2 separate regions of the Homo sapiens genome follow, and region 1 is linked to region 2. Evidence: promoter capture Hi-C in 16 types of primary human blood cells and fetal thymus (Javierre and others, 2016). All regions are on one chromosome and are shown on one strand. Each heading gives the region's core, a stretch centred on a gene start or on the middle of the fragment in contact. The rest is flanking DNA. Distances are from core to core; before and after follow the strand shown. Region 1 holds the start of ZC3H7B (zinc finger CCCH-type containing 7B). Region 2 holds the start of CHADL (chondroadherin like).

Region 1 (6,345 bases), core at 3,629-6,128, 61 kb after region 2:
CAAAAAAAAAAAAAAAACACACACACATATATCAATGCTATGCATATAATAACTCAGTCCTTGCAGTGACCCTATATTAGAGTTCTCCAGATAAATAGAATCAGCAGGAGATATATGTACGTATGAGAGAGAGACACACACACAAAGTGATTTATTTTAAGGAATTGGCTCATGTAAGTATGAAGACTGAGAAGTCCTAAGATCTACAGTCAGCAGGCTAGAGAGCCAGGAAGAGCTGATGGTTCAGGTCAAATCCAAAGGCAGGGAAAAAATTAATGTCCCGACTGGGCGCAGTGGCTCAGGCCTATAATCCTAGCACTTTGGGAGGCCGAGGCGGACAGATCACTTGAGATCAGGAGTTCAAGGCCAACCTGGTAAATACGGTGAAAACCGTTACTACCAAAAATACAAACATTAGCCGGGTGTGGTGGCGCATATCTGTAGCCCCAGCTACTTGGAAAGCTGAGGCAGGAGAATCACTTGAACTCCTGGGAGGTGGAGGTTGCAGTGAGCTGAGATAGCACCACTACACTCCTGCCTGGACAACAGAGCAAGACTCCCTCTCAAAAAAAGAAAGCAAAAGTCAATGTCCCAGCTTGAAGGCCATCATGGAGGAGGAATTCTCTCTTCTTTGCAGGAGAGTCAGCTTTTTTGTTCTATTCAGGTCATCAACTGGTTGGATGAGGCCCATCCACCTTAGGGAGGACAATCAGCTTTACTCAGTTTATAGATTTAAATATTAAACTCATCTGGAAACACCCCCACAAAAGCACCCAGAATGTTTGACCAAATATCTGGGCACCCTGTGGCCCAGGCAAGTGGACACATCATGAGCCATCACAGACCCTTTCAGTTGGGTACAGTACTTTTTTTTTTTTTTTCAAGACAACCTCTTGCTCTGTCACCCAGGCTGGAGTGCAGTGATGAAGCCATGGCTCACTGCTGCCTCCACCTTCTTGGCTCAAGGATCCTCCGCTTTGAGGATTCTGGGCTCACCCTCCTGAATAGCTGGGGACTACACACACATCACCACACCTGGCTTTTTTTTTTTTTTTTTTTTTTGAGACCGAGTCTTGCTCTATCGCCCAAGCTGGAGTGCAGTTGTGTGATCTTGGCTCACTCCAACCTCTGCCTCCCAGGTTCAAGCCATCCTCCTGGTTCAGCCTCCAGAGCAGCTGGGACTACAGGTGCACACCACCACGCCCAGCTAATTTTTTTTTTTCTTTTTTTGAGATGGAGTCTCGCTCTTGTCACCCAGGCAGGAGTGCAGTGGAACGATCTCGGCTCACTACAACGTCCGCCTCCTGGGTTCAAGCGTTTCTTGTTACTCAGCCTCAAGTAGCTGGGATCACAGGCGCCCGTGACCACGCCTGGCTGATATTTGTATTTTTAGTAGAGACAAGGTTTCCCCATGTTGGCCAGGCTGGTCTCGAACTCCCTACCTCAGGTGATCCACCCGCCTCTGCCTCCCAAAGTGCTGGGATTACAGGCATGAGCCACCGTGCCTGGCCACGCCCAGCTAATTTTTGTATTTTTAGTAGAGACAGGGTTTCACCATATTGGCTAGGCTGGTCTTGAACTCCTGACCTCGTGACCCACCCGCCTTGGCCTCCCAAAGTGCTGGGATTACAGGCGTGAGCCACAGCGCCTGGCCACACCTGGCTAATTTGTTGTTGTTGTTGTTTTGAGACTGAGTCTCACTCTGTTGCCCAGGCTGGAGTGCAATGGCGCGATCTCGGCTCACTGCAACCTCCACCTCCCAGGTTCAAGCGATTCTCCTGCCTTAGCCTCCTGAGGAGCTGGGATTACAGGTGCGTGCCACCACACCTGGCTCATTTTTGTATTTTTCGTAGAGATGGGGTTTCAACATGTTGGTCAGGCTGGTCTCAAGCTCCTGACCTCAGGTGATCCGCCCACCTTGGCCTCCCAAAATTCTGGGATTACAGGGGTGAGCCACCACGCCCGGCCTCGGCCTCCCAAAGTGCTGGGATTACGGGCATTAGCCACCACGCCCGGCCAATTTTTTGTATTTTTTGCAGAGTTAGGGTTTTGTCATGTTGCCCAGGCTGGTCTCAAACTCCTGGGCTCAAGCGATCTGCCCACCTCGGCCTCCTAGTGTTGGGATTTTGGGTGTACCCCATCGAGTACAGTACTCACATTACCCCCATCTTAGTCACCTCAGGCTGCTATGACAGATACCATGGACTGGATGGCTTAAGCAGTAGAAATTTATTTCTCACTGATCTGGGGGCTGGAAGTCCACGACCAGGGTCCCAGCATGGTCAGGTTGTTGGTGAGGGCCGCCTTCCTGGTTTATAGATGGCTGCTTTCTTGCTGTATCCTCACCTGGCAGAGAGAGATAATCTCCCCAGTGTCTCTTATAAGAGCACTAATTCCATTCATCAGGGCTTCATTTTCATGACCTAATTATCTCCCAAAGGCCCCACCTCCTAATACCATCAAATCAGGGATTAGAGATTCAACATATGAATTTTTTTTTTTTTGAGATGGAGTCTCGCTCTGTCGCCCAGGCTGGAATGCAGTGGCACGATCTCGGCTCACTGTAACCTCTACTTCCCAGGTTCAAGCCATTCTCCTGCCTCAGCCTCCCGAGTAGCTGGGACTACAGGCGCCCGCCACCATGCCTGGCTAATTTTTTGTATTTTTAGTAGAGATGGGGTTTCACCGTGTTAGCTGGGATGGTCTCGATCTCCTGACCTTGTGATCCACCCGCCTCGGCCTCCCAAAGTGCTAGGATTACAGGCCTGAGCCACCGCGCCCGGCCTAATTTTTGTATTTTTTTGTAGAGACAGGGTTTCACTACGTTAGCCGTGCTGGTCTCGAACTCCTAACCTTAGGTGATCCACCTACCTTGGCGTCCCAAAGTGCTAGGATTTCAGATGTGAGCCACCGTGCCGAGCTACAGGGTTTTTGAGAGGGTAAAAGAATCAACATATGCAAAGTGTTTGGCTCATAGTAAAGAAGCGGTGGCTGTTACTGCTATTTCAGCTTTAACATGGGGACATAGAGCACACTGTGACAACATGGGACTGACAACATGGGGCTTCCCAGAAAGCCTACCGATGCCAGCCTCCTGGCCCTTTTCTTTTTCTTTCTTTTTTTGAGACAGAGTCTCACTCTGTCGCCCAGGCTGGAGTGCAGTGGCATGATCCCGGCTCACTGCAAGCTACGCCTCCCGGATTCACGCCATTCTCCTGTCTCAGCCTCCTGTGTAGCTGGGACTACAGGCTCCCGACACCACGCCCAGCTTATTTTTTGTATTTTTAGTAGAGATGGGGTTTCACCGTGTTAGCCAGGATGGTCTCGATCTCCTGACCTCATGATCCGCCCGCCTCAACCTCCCAAAGTGCTGGGATTATAGGCGTGAGCTACCGCGCCCGGCCTCCTCCTGGCCCTTTTCTCCAAAGCATCCTCACCTCTGGTTGGGGTCTTGTAATAAAGACCCCTTTACCATCTTAGGCAGCCCAAACAATTGAACAAGTTGGTACCAACTTGAAGAGATAAGAGGCTGGTGTCCTGCTGAATCCCCCTTGAATGATGGACAGTCCTCTTCAAGAATATGTGTTCATTATTTCACCAGCAACCTGGGGTGGTGGAATCACCAGACCATTTGCCATCTAGTTCACTTGAGGCAAAATGCAGCAATCCAACTGGCCTCAGCATCCTCATCGATGAAATGAGAGTGATAATAACCATGGTGGTAAATGTGATAAGTTGTCAAGGGTGTTTCATTGTAAATTGCCTAGGGGGTATTGGGAACTCACACACACACACACACACACACACACACACACACACACACACACACACACATATATTTCTGGAGACAGTTTTGCTCTTGTTGCCCAGGCTGGAGTGCAATGGCATGATCTTGGCTCACTGCAACCTCCACCTCTGGGGTTCAAGTGATTCTCCTGCCTCAGCCTCCTGAGTAGCTGGGATTACAGGCACCCACCACCACGCCTGGCTAATTTTTGTATTTTTGTAGAGATGGGGTTTCACCACGTTGGCTAGTCTGGTCTTGAACTCCTGACCTCAGGTGATCCACCCGTCTTGGCCTCCCAAAGTGCTGAGATTACAGGCGTGAGCCACTGCACCCAGCCCTGATTGTCAATATCTAATCAGGTTCCTCATTTTCCACCATTCCCCAGGTGATGTCTGATCACCTTGCCCTGCCTTCAGCAAGAATCTTGTTAGATGGGTTTAAGCGAGAATCCTCTCATCTCTGATGCAGTTTCCTATGCACTGGCGCTCAATCAGTGGATCCTTTCTCCTTCCTCATAAATTCCCAGTTGCCCATGCTGATTTCTGAATTGAGCCCAAATACTCTCCCTGACCGCAAAACCCACTGCAGTGGTCCCTACACCCATCATGATGCCAATAAAGTCGGCCTTGTAGTCTTTAACAAGTGTCATTCAATATTTTTTTTAACATCCTATACATAAAACTCCAGCCAAGTGAGGTCCTGATTCTTCTATGTGTCTCCGGTTCCCATCTATGAGAAGGGCACAACGCAACCAGGGTTTTGGGCAGCCTTCCATGAAAGCACCTGGAAGCCGGAGAAGGGGGGCGGGGGGACTTTTGACACAGATGGGGAAGGGCGGAGGCGCTGGGTTTGAGCAGCATCAGCCCAGAAATGCAGAACTGCCAAAAGAAACCCCCCTAAAAGGCAGGACACTTTTAAAGAAAATAAAGGTGAATTCCAGGCATGAGCTTTCGACGGGGAATGGGGCTTCCCCGACTCGCCCCCACGCCCCCCGCCCTTCTCCCCAGGTGCGCAGCCCGCGCCGCCCACCCCGGGCGCGGCGAGGCGACGGGAGCCGAGCTCTCTAGGACCCGAGGAGGAAGAGCTGCAGGGAGACAGTGCCTCCAGCGGGTGCTGCCGCGAGCGGCCAGCCGAGGGGCTGGAAATGAAAGTAAAGCGCTCCAGAGCCACATGGACGGAGCTGCCGGGGCGGCGGCGCCGGGAGCAGGATGCGGCCGCCCGTAATTAAATAGCATTTACTCTTATTATTACTAATAATAATAACGTAATCATACCTCTAGTCATAGCATACCATTTATCGGGCTCGGCGCAGGCCCGCGGGGAGCGCAGCCCGGCGGAGGTGAGTGCTTGGCGCGGCCCGAGCCCCGCGGGGCAGAGGCCGGGGACACTGCGTCCGGAGCCGCCCGCGCGCGAGGGTTCGGGGACGCCCGGGCCGGGCAGGGCTGGGGAAGAGGCGAAGAGAGCCCTTTCCAGGCCGGGGCCGCGCGCCGGGCCACCTGGAAAGTGGGATTTTGCAAAAAATAAATCGTCTCTAAAACCCCATTTGCTCCTTTTTGGGGATCCCGGTCCCCGTGCCCTGCCCCAAAGTTTAAAAGTTACCGTGTGGCCGGGGGCACCTGGCGCTGGGGAGACTTGGCCGCCCCTGCAGCCCCCAGGAGGTGTCTTGAAATTTTCGTGGGGCCTCTCTCTTCGGCGTCCGGAGCTTCTGGGGTGTCCAGATGCTTTGCCGACCCCGCGCAGGGGGTCTCGGGGGCTGGCAGGGGCGTCGCTGGCAGGGCCCCCCTTCCTTTTGTGTTGTCCTTGGCCCCGCAGCACCCGGAGTTGGAGGGGCCGCGGCGAGGGCCGGGGAGCGGGGCCGCCCGACGGGCCGCCCCTTTCGGCTGCGGCGGCCACGCGAGCCCGGGGATCCGGGGCCTGCAGCCGGGCCCGCGGGAAGGGGGCGGCAGGAAAGGGGGGCGCGGTCTGGGCCTGCTGGGCAGGGGGGCGTTTCCGGTCGCAGGATCAGTCTCTGGACTTCGAGGCCTGTGGGAGGCCCGCGGCCGTCCAGGGAGTGCTAGGGGGCTGCGGACCCCGGCTCTGGCGCCTGGGGACGGGGGCGCCCTGACGGGGCTGGGGGCCTGGGAGCCGCCGACTCCGGCCTCATACCCCCATCCTGCCCGCTGCGAACCTCAGGGCCCCCCTCCGGGTTTGCTCCCTCCTCCTTTCCCCTCCTTTCTCCTCAACTCTGTCTGTTTTAGGCGTTTATAAGGCGCCTGGTTGGGGGGACTTTCACAGACAAAGCCGTCTTCCCAGGGGGGAAAATAATCATATAAAAACAGCTCACTCTGATAGAACCTGATGGCTGTATTGCCAACAGGGCATTGACGGGGAAGACTAGGGGGCTAGGGCCCTGCGTGGGGAGTCTGGGGGCTCTAAAAGGGGGCTGGGCCTGAGTGGGGAGCTGGTGATCAGCGGTTTTATTTCTCGGGTTGCTAGCTTTGGCATCAGACTTTGAACCCCAACTTCTTGCCATATTCCTCAGCATCTGCAGTTCAGCCTGATGAAAATAGCAGAATGCA
Region 2 (6,199 bases), core at 1,916-4,415:
GGTTCCGCCTCAGGTCCAGGAGCTGGGTGTCGCTGGGGAAGCCGCGGGGCACCGCCTGCAGGCCGCAGCCCTCGCAGCTGCTGTGCCGGGACTCGGGGACGCACACGCAGGCGCGAGGGCAAGGCGCGACTGCCCGCTCCTCCCCGGGGCCGCGCGGAGGGCCGCGCGGAGGGGCGCGGGGCCCGGCCACAGCCCGCTCTTCCAGCTCTTCCTCTTCCTGCGCCGCGTCCCCAGGGCAGCGCAGGTCCCAGGGCCGCAGGGCGTCCAGAGCCTCGCCCCGCAGGCGCCGCGGCCCCTGGCACGCGCCGTCCGAGCGCACGCGCGCCCGCGCCAGCCACTCGAGTAGGGGCCGCGCCTGGCAGCCGCACCACAGCGGATTCCCCTGCAGCCGCAGCCGGCGCAGCTGGCCCGGGCCCTGCAGCGGGGGCAGGGTGTCTAGCTGGTTCCCGCGGAGGTCGAGGGTGTGCAGGCGCGGACAGTGTGCGAAGGCCCTGGGACCCAGGGCCTGCAGGGCCCCGCCGTCCAGCAGCAGCTCCCGCAGGCCGGGCAGCGCCAGCCCGTCCTCCTCGCCCGCGTAGGTGAGCGGGTTGTGGCCCAGCTCCAGACGGGCCAGGCCGCGGGCCTGGGACAAGACAGGCCCGGGCAGAGCCTGGAGCTCGTTGTGGTGTAGGCTGAGCCGTCTCAGGGCGGGCAGGCCAGCCAGGGCCTCGGGGGCCAGCACGCTGAGCGCGTTGTGCGACAGCCGCAGCCAGCGGACGCGCAGTAGCCCCTGGAAGGCCATGGCGGGCAGGTAAACCAGGGCGTTGTGGGCCAGGTTTAGCGTGGCCAGCGCACCCAGTGCCCCGAACGTCCCCGGCCGCAGCTCCTCCAGTGCGTTCCCCTCCAGCTCCAGCCGCCGCAACGAGCCCAGCCCGTCCAGCGCCTCCTGGGGCAGCTCACGCAGGTGGTTGGAGGCCAGGTTGAGCAGGAGCAGGCGGCCCAGGCCACGGAAGGCGCCCTCGGCCACCAGCTCCACCTCGCAGTGGCGCAGGTCCAGGTGTGTGAGGTGAGGCACGCCCTGGAAGGCGGCTGCGGGGATCACCTTCAGCAAATTGCCCTGCAGGTCCAGCCGCTGGGTCAGCTGGGGACAGCGAGGAGAAAGTGGGGCTGAGCCAGGCAGGGACCCCGCCTTTGCAAGTGCTGCTTCTTCCCCGGAACACTCTTTTCTCCTGTCACCTTTCCCATATTTCTCTTCATCCGACCCCTGACACCTCCTCCAGGAAGCCTTCCTCTCCAGTGCCCTGGGCATCACCCACTGTGGCATTTTTCACACTGTGCTGTCCCTGCCTCCTCGCTCTCTCTCCTCCACTAGCTGATGACTCTGCAGAGCAGAGACCACACCTCACCCTGCCACAGCCCGCCTCTCCACCACAGGGTCTGCAGTGAATTCAGTATCGATCTATGGGTCACCTACTTATTCCATTCACACAGTAAGGATTTTAAATAGATCATCTCCCTGTTACTGGTTTTTATTATTCCCATTTTACAGAAGTGTAAACTGAGGCTCAAAGAGAAGTAATTTGCCAAGGTCTCCCGGGCAGGCGGTGGCAGATCAACTGGTGCCCAGCCCAGGCTCCTCCCTCTGGGTCCCCACCTTGCCCCACTGCCACTCTGTGCCTGTGCTCCTGCCCTGCTGACCTCAGGGATGGCGTCTGGCACCTCAGTGAGGTTCTGGTACCGGCAGGCAACGTGTCGCCTGGAGTTGTCACAGATGCAGGCCTGTGGGCAGCGCTGGGCGGCGGCCTGCCTAGCCGGGGCCAGCAGCAGAAGTACAAGAAGCGGCAGCACCAAGGGGACATGGGTGGAGCTCCGGGGCCTGGGACGGGGAGGGAGAGTCTGTTGTGCACAAGGGCCGAGGCCACATGCTGTCCCTCACTTAGTCCCAGCCATGGTGCAGCTCCTGCCCCAAAAACCCCTCAGAGCCTCCTCCTTTGGGCCCAGGAAAGTGCCAATCACCCTGAGCCTCCCTGCCCCCCACCCCCCACGCAGTGGAGGTCCTATGATTAGTCCTGTTTTACATGGGAGGAAACCGAGGCTCAGAAAAGTGACCTGGTTAGTCCCTTTGCCTCTGCCCAATGGCTCAGTGAGGACTTGCTGACTGTGAGAATGACTCCAGTTCAGAGCATGTTCTCAGGCTGTGGTGAGGCTCTGGTCCAGGGTAGGCTCGGAAGCAGCCTGTCCTCAGACTGATATGATGCCAGCTCCCAGGTGGCAGGAGCATAATGGTACCCCCCAGAAAGGAGGGAGGCATCCAGTCCGGGTCCTTGAGTCTTTTTTTGTTTGTTTGTTTAAATAGAGACAAGCCTTGCTCTGTTGCCCAGGCTGGAGTCTGGAGTGCAGTGGAATGACTATGGCTTACTGCAGCCTTCACCTCCTGGGCTAAAGTGATCCTCTCACCTCAGCCTCTTGAGTAGCTGGGACTACAGGCACACACCACCACGCCTGGCTAATTTTTTAATTACTTCTGGTAGAGACAGGGTCTCGCTATGTTGCCCGGGCTGGTCTTGAACTCCTGGCCTCAAGTGATTGTCCCACCTTGGCCTCCCAAAGCGCTAGGATGATAGATCACCTCCCCTGCCCAGCTGGCCCCTCTGTTCTCAGCCTGTGTCAGGCATGGCCTCTCCCCCATCGCTGGGCTGTTCCCCGGCCCCCAGGAGCCTCCCCCTCGCTGCTCACTGGACTATCGTCTGTTTTGGAGTCTCCTTTGGGTCCCAGGCTCCAGCCCCTGCGTTGGAGTTGGTGGCTTCTCCAGAGCCTGTGGTGAAGGCTGTGCCTCAGGGCAGGCCAGGGAGGGGACCCATGGGGACAGATCGCTGAAGCGACAAGCATTCATAATGCAGGGACCACTGCTGGGCTCTCAGACAAGCCCCAGAGGACCAGTTCCTGGCAGTGGCCACATTGCCACGTGTCTCAGAGCCCACCTTGGGAGACCCCCTTCCTGGAGAACCCCAGGAAGTCCCCAGAGCCCCTGCCCGCCAGCCTCTGAGAGGCCCAGAGGGGGCAGAGACTTACCTGAGGCCACTGAGCTGCTCTGAATCCCCCCTTGCACCATCGGGCCCAAAGACTCACCCCTCCATGCCGCCTGGAACTGCTGGTCCAGCCTGGAGGCGCAGCGCAGGGACAGGCTGTCCCCGCCTGGCAGGAGCCCCCCTCCACGGCCCGCAGGCCTGGCAGCTGGGACAGGGCTGAATGGGAGGCATTGTCGGCAGACCAGGCAAGCCAGGCTTCCCCAGGCTGAGGTGAAGAAGGGGCGGGCGGCGGGCGGGAGCAGCGGCTGGAGTTACAGGGCCTCCTGCCTGCCCCAGCCGAGGACTGAGGCCCCGGCCTGAATCCTTGGGCCAGCCCGACAGGGAGGGGGCACCAGCAGCTGGCCCGGGAGTCAGCAGTCCTGGGCTCCCTCCTGCCATGTGGGCTGCCCTCCCAGAGGCTGCTTCCTAGTCTCTGAAAAACACATCCCATTAATAAGTAGCTCTGAGGTCACAGTGGGGGTTCAGGCCCGCACCTGGCACACAGTGGGTGCTTCAGAACAGGTGACCCTTTCCTTCCGTTTGTGCTTACACATTGACATAAATAGTTTAATACTGGACACACAGGATTCTAGACACTCATTTTTTTCACTTAACCTCAGATTACTGGGAGTTATCCAAATTGACTCTTCCGAATCTCATTATTCTGTGGTATATAGTATTCCATTGTGTAAATGTATCACATTGACTTAGCCATTCATCTTGGACATTGGCTACCTCCAATTTTTTGCTATTTACAAACAATATTGCAAAGAATATCCAAATACGCATCTTCCCAAGCTCGTGTTTGTTTTTTAAATAATACATCCAGACCATGGCCAATGTTCATGTATCTTGATTTTTCAGATTCCTGCTTCTGATGGAATTGCATCTTCTACTGTTTGTTCCTTTAATTGGAAACAGGGGTCAGGCACAGTGGCTCATGCCTGTAATCCCAGCACTTTGGGAGGCTGAGGTGGGAGGATCACTTGAGCCCAGGAGTTTGAGACCAGCCTGGGCAACACAGACTCTGTCTCAAGAGAAAAAAAAAAGGCCGGGCGCGGTGGCTCACGCCTGTAATCCCAGCACTTTGGGAGGCGGAGGCGGGTGGATCACGAGGTCGAGATCAAGACCATCCTGGCTAACACAGTGAAACCCTATCTCTACTAAAAGTACAAAAAATTAGCCGGGTGTGGTGGCAGGCGCCTGTAGTCCCAGCTACTTGGGAGGCTGAGGCAGGCAAATGGCATGAACGCGAGAGCCGAGATGGCGCCACTGCACTCTAGCCTGGGCAACAGAGTGAAACTGTCTCAAAAAAGAAAAAAAATATATACATATATATATATATATATATATATATATATATATATATATATATATATATGTATGTGTGTGTGTATACACTTATGTGTGTATATATTTATATATAATAAAAATATAAATGTATATGTTTATATATATTTATATATGTTAAACAATGAACATCTGTGTGTACTTTTCCTAGACTGCAGGAGTTTTTTGTTTTTTGAGACAGAGTCTCACTTTATCGCCCAGGCTGGAGCTCACTGCAACCTCCACCTCCCTGGTTCATGCGATTCTCCTGCCTCAGCTTCCCAAGTAGCTGGGATGACAGATGTGTACCACCACATCTGGTTAATTTTTGCATTTTTAGTAGAGACGGGGTTTCGCCATGTTGGCCAGGCCGGTCCCGAACTCCTGACCTCAAGTGATCTGCCCGCCTTGATCTCCCAAAGTGCTGGGATTACAGGCATGAGTCACCACGCCCAGCCCTGCAGTAACATTTTAAAAAAAGAAATAGTGCCATGCCACACAGCCATCTGCTTTGTGCTTTTTTTGCTTGGCAAATTCCAATCAATGGAACTTCAGTGTGCTCTTTCGTCCTTTTTTTGAGACAGGGTCTCACTGTTGCCCAGGTGTGAGTGAAGTGTGATCATGGCTCACTGCGGCCTTGACATACCAGCCTCCCAAGCAGCTGGGACCTCCAGATATGCACCGCCACCTCCAGCTGGTTTTAAAATTTGTTGTAGAGTTGGGGTCTTGCTATGTTGTCCAGGCTGGTCTTGAACTCCGGGGCACAAGTGATCCTCCCACCTCGGCCTCCCAAAGCGTTAGGATTACAGGCATGAGCCACTGCACCTGGCTGTGTCTGGCGTTTTCCACTCAATATTATGTTAGTGAGAATCATCTTTTTATTTTTTTTTTGAGACGGAGTCTAGCTCTCGTTGCCCAGGCTAGAGTACAGTGGCGTGATCTCAGCTCACTGCAACCTCCGCCTCCCAGGTTCAAGGAATTCTGCTTCAGCTTCCCGAGTAGCTGGGATTACAGGCACCCGCCACCACACCCAGCTAATTTTTGTATTTTTAGTAGAGACGGGTCTCACCATATTGGCCAGGCAGGTCACAAACTCCTGACCTCAAGTGATCCGCCCGCCTCAACCTCCCAAAGTCCTAGGATTTACAGGTGTGAGCCCGCACCCGGCTTCATCTATTTTAATTTTTTTTTTAAATTCAGCATTCCAGCCTTCCATTCTATAAATATATGACAACAGTGGCATGGGGCAGGGGCGGGAGGCAGTCTGCCCACAATGCAGGCAGTAAGCGGGTGTGCTGTCAGTGGAGAAGTGAGACACAATGGAACTGACTTAAAGTTGGTCTCTGCTTTTTATTATCATGTGCTGACAAGTCTAAACAATGTCAATGCTAAAATATTTCTTCTTGGGCAGACCATTCCTACCTTCTCGGTACCACACCGTACCACAAGTAGCTTACCCATTCCTCTAGTGATAGACATTTGGGTTGTTTCCAGCATGGGTTTATTAGAAAGAGCACTGTAGCCGGGCATGGTGGTTCATGCCTGTTAAGTGAGCTGAGGCGGGAGGATCACTTGAGCCCAATAATTCAAGACCAGCCTGGACAACACAATGAGACCCTGTCTTTACAAAAAAAAGCTGAACGTGGTGGCTTGTGACATGGTCCCAGCTACTTGGGAGGCTGAGGCACGAAGACTAAGTGAGCCCAGGAGGTCGAGGCTGCAGTGAGCTGTGATCACACCACTGCACCCCAGCCTGGGTGACATGGCAAGACCCTGTCTCAAAAAAAAAAAAAAAAAAAAAAAAGGTTGTACCAATTTACACA

The links. Contacts are between HindIII fragments. The CHiCAGO score rates a contact against its expected background, and 5 or more counts as called.
Region 1: the fragment with the promoter of ZC3H7B here is called in contact with the fragment with the promoter of CHADL in region 2 in 3 of 17 cell types (erythroblasts, M0 macrophages and naive CD8 T cells); the score reaches 8.1 in erythroblasts.

Annotation. Positions count from the first base shown.
Region 1 is chr22:41,296,647-41,302,991 of GRCh38, forward strand. It overlaps ZC3H7B (zinc finger CCCH-type containing 7B), which reads left to right and starts at 4,879. Exons shown (of 23, transcript NM_017590.6): 1 at 4,879-5,126. It also overlaps a transcript of RANGAP1 not described here. RefSeq lists silencers at 159-453, 4,566-4,905, 5,186-5,255 and an enhancer at 4,987-5,488. The HindIII fragment of the contact is 7,155 bases long and covers 1-6,345 here.
Region 2 is chr22:41,237,766-41,243,964 of GRCh38, forward strand. It overlaps CHADL (chondroadherin like), which reads right to left and starts at 3,166. Exons shown (of 6, transcript NM_138481.2): 1 at 3,109-3,166; 2 at 1,678-1,855; 3 at 1-1,120. The coding sequence starts at 3,116. RefSeq lists enhancers at 1-142, 143-731, 732-1,319, 2,769-3,269, 3,270-3,770 and silencers at 1-16, 77-456. The HindIII fragment of the contact is 52,914 bases long and covers 1-6,199 here.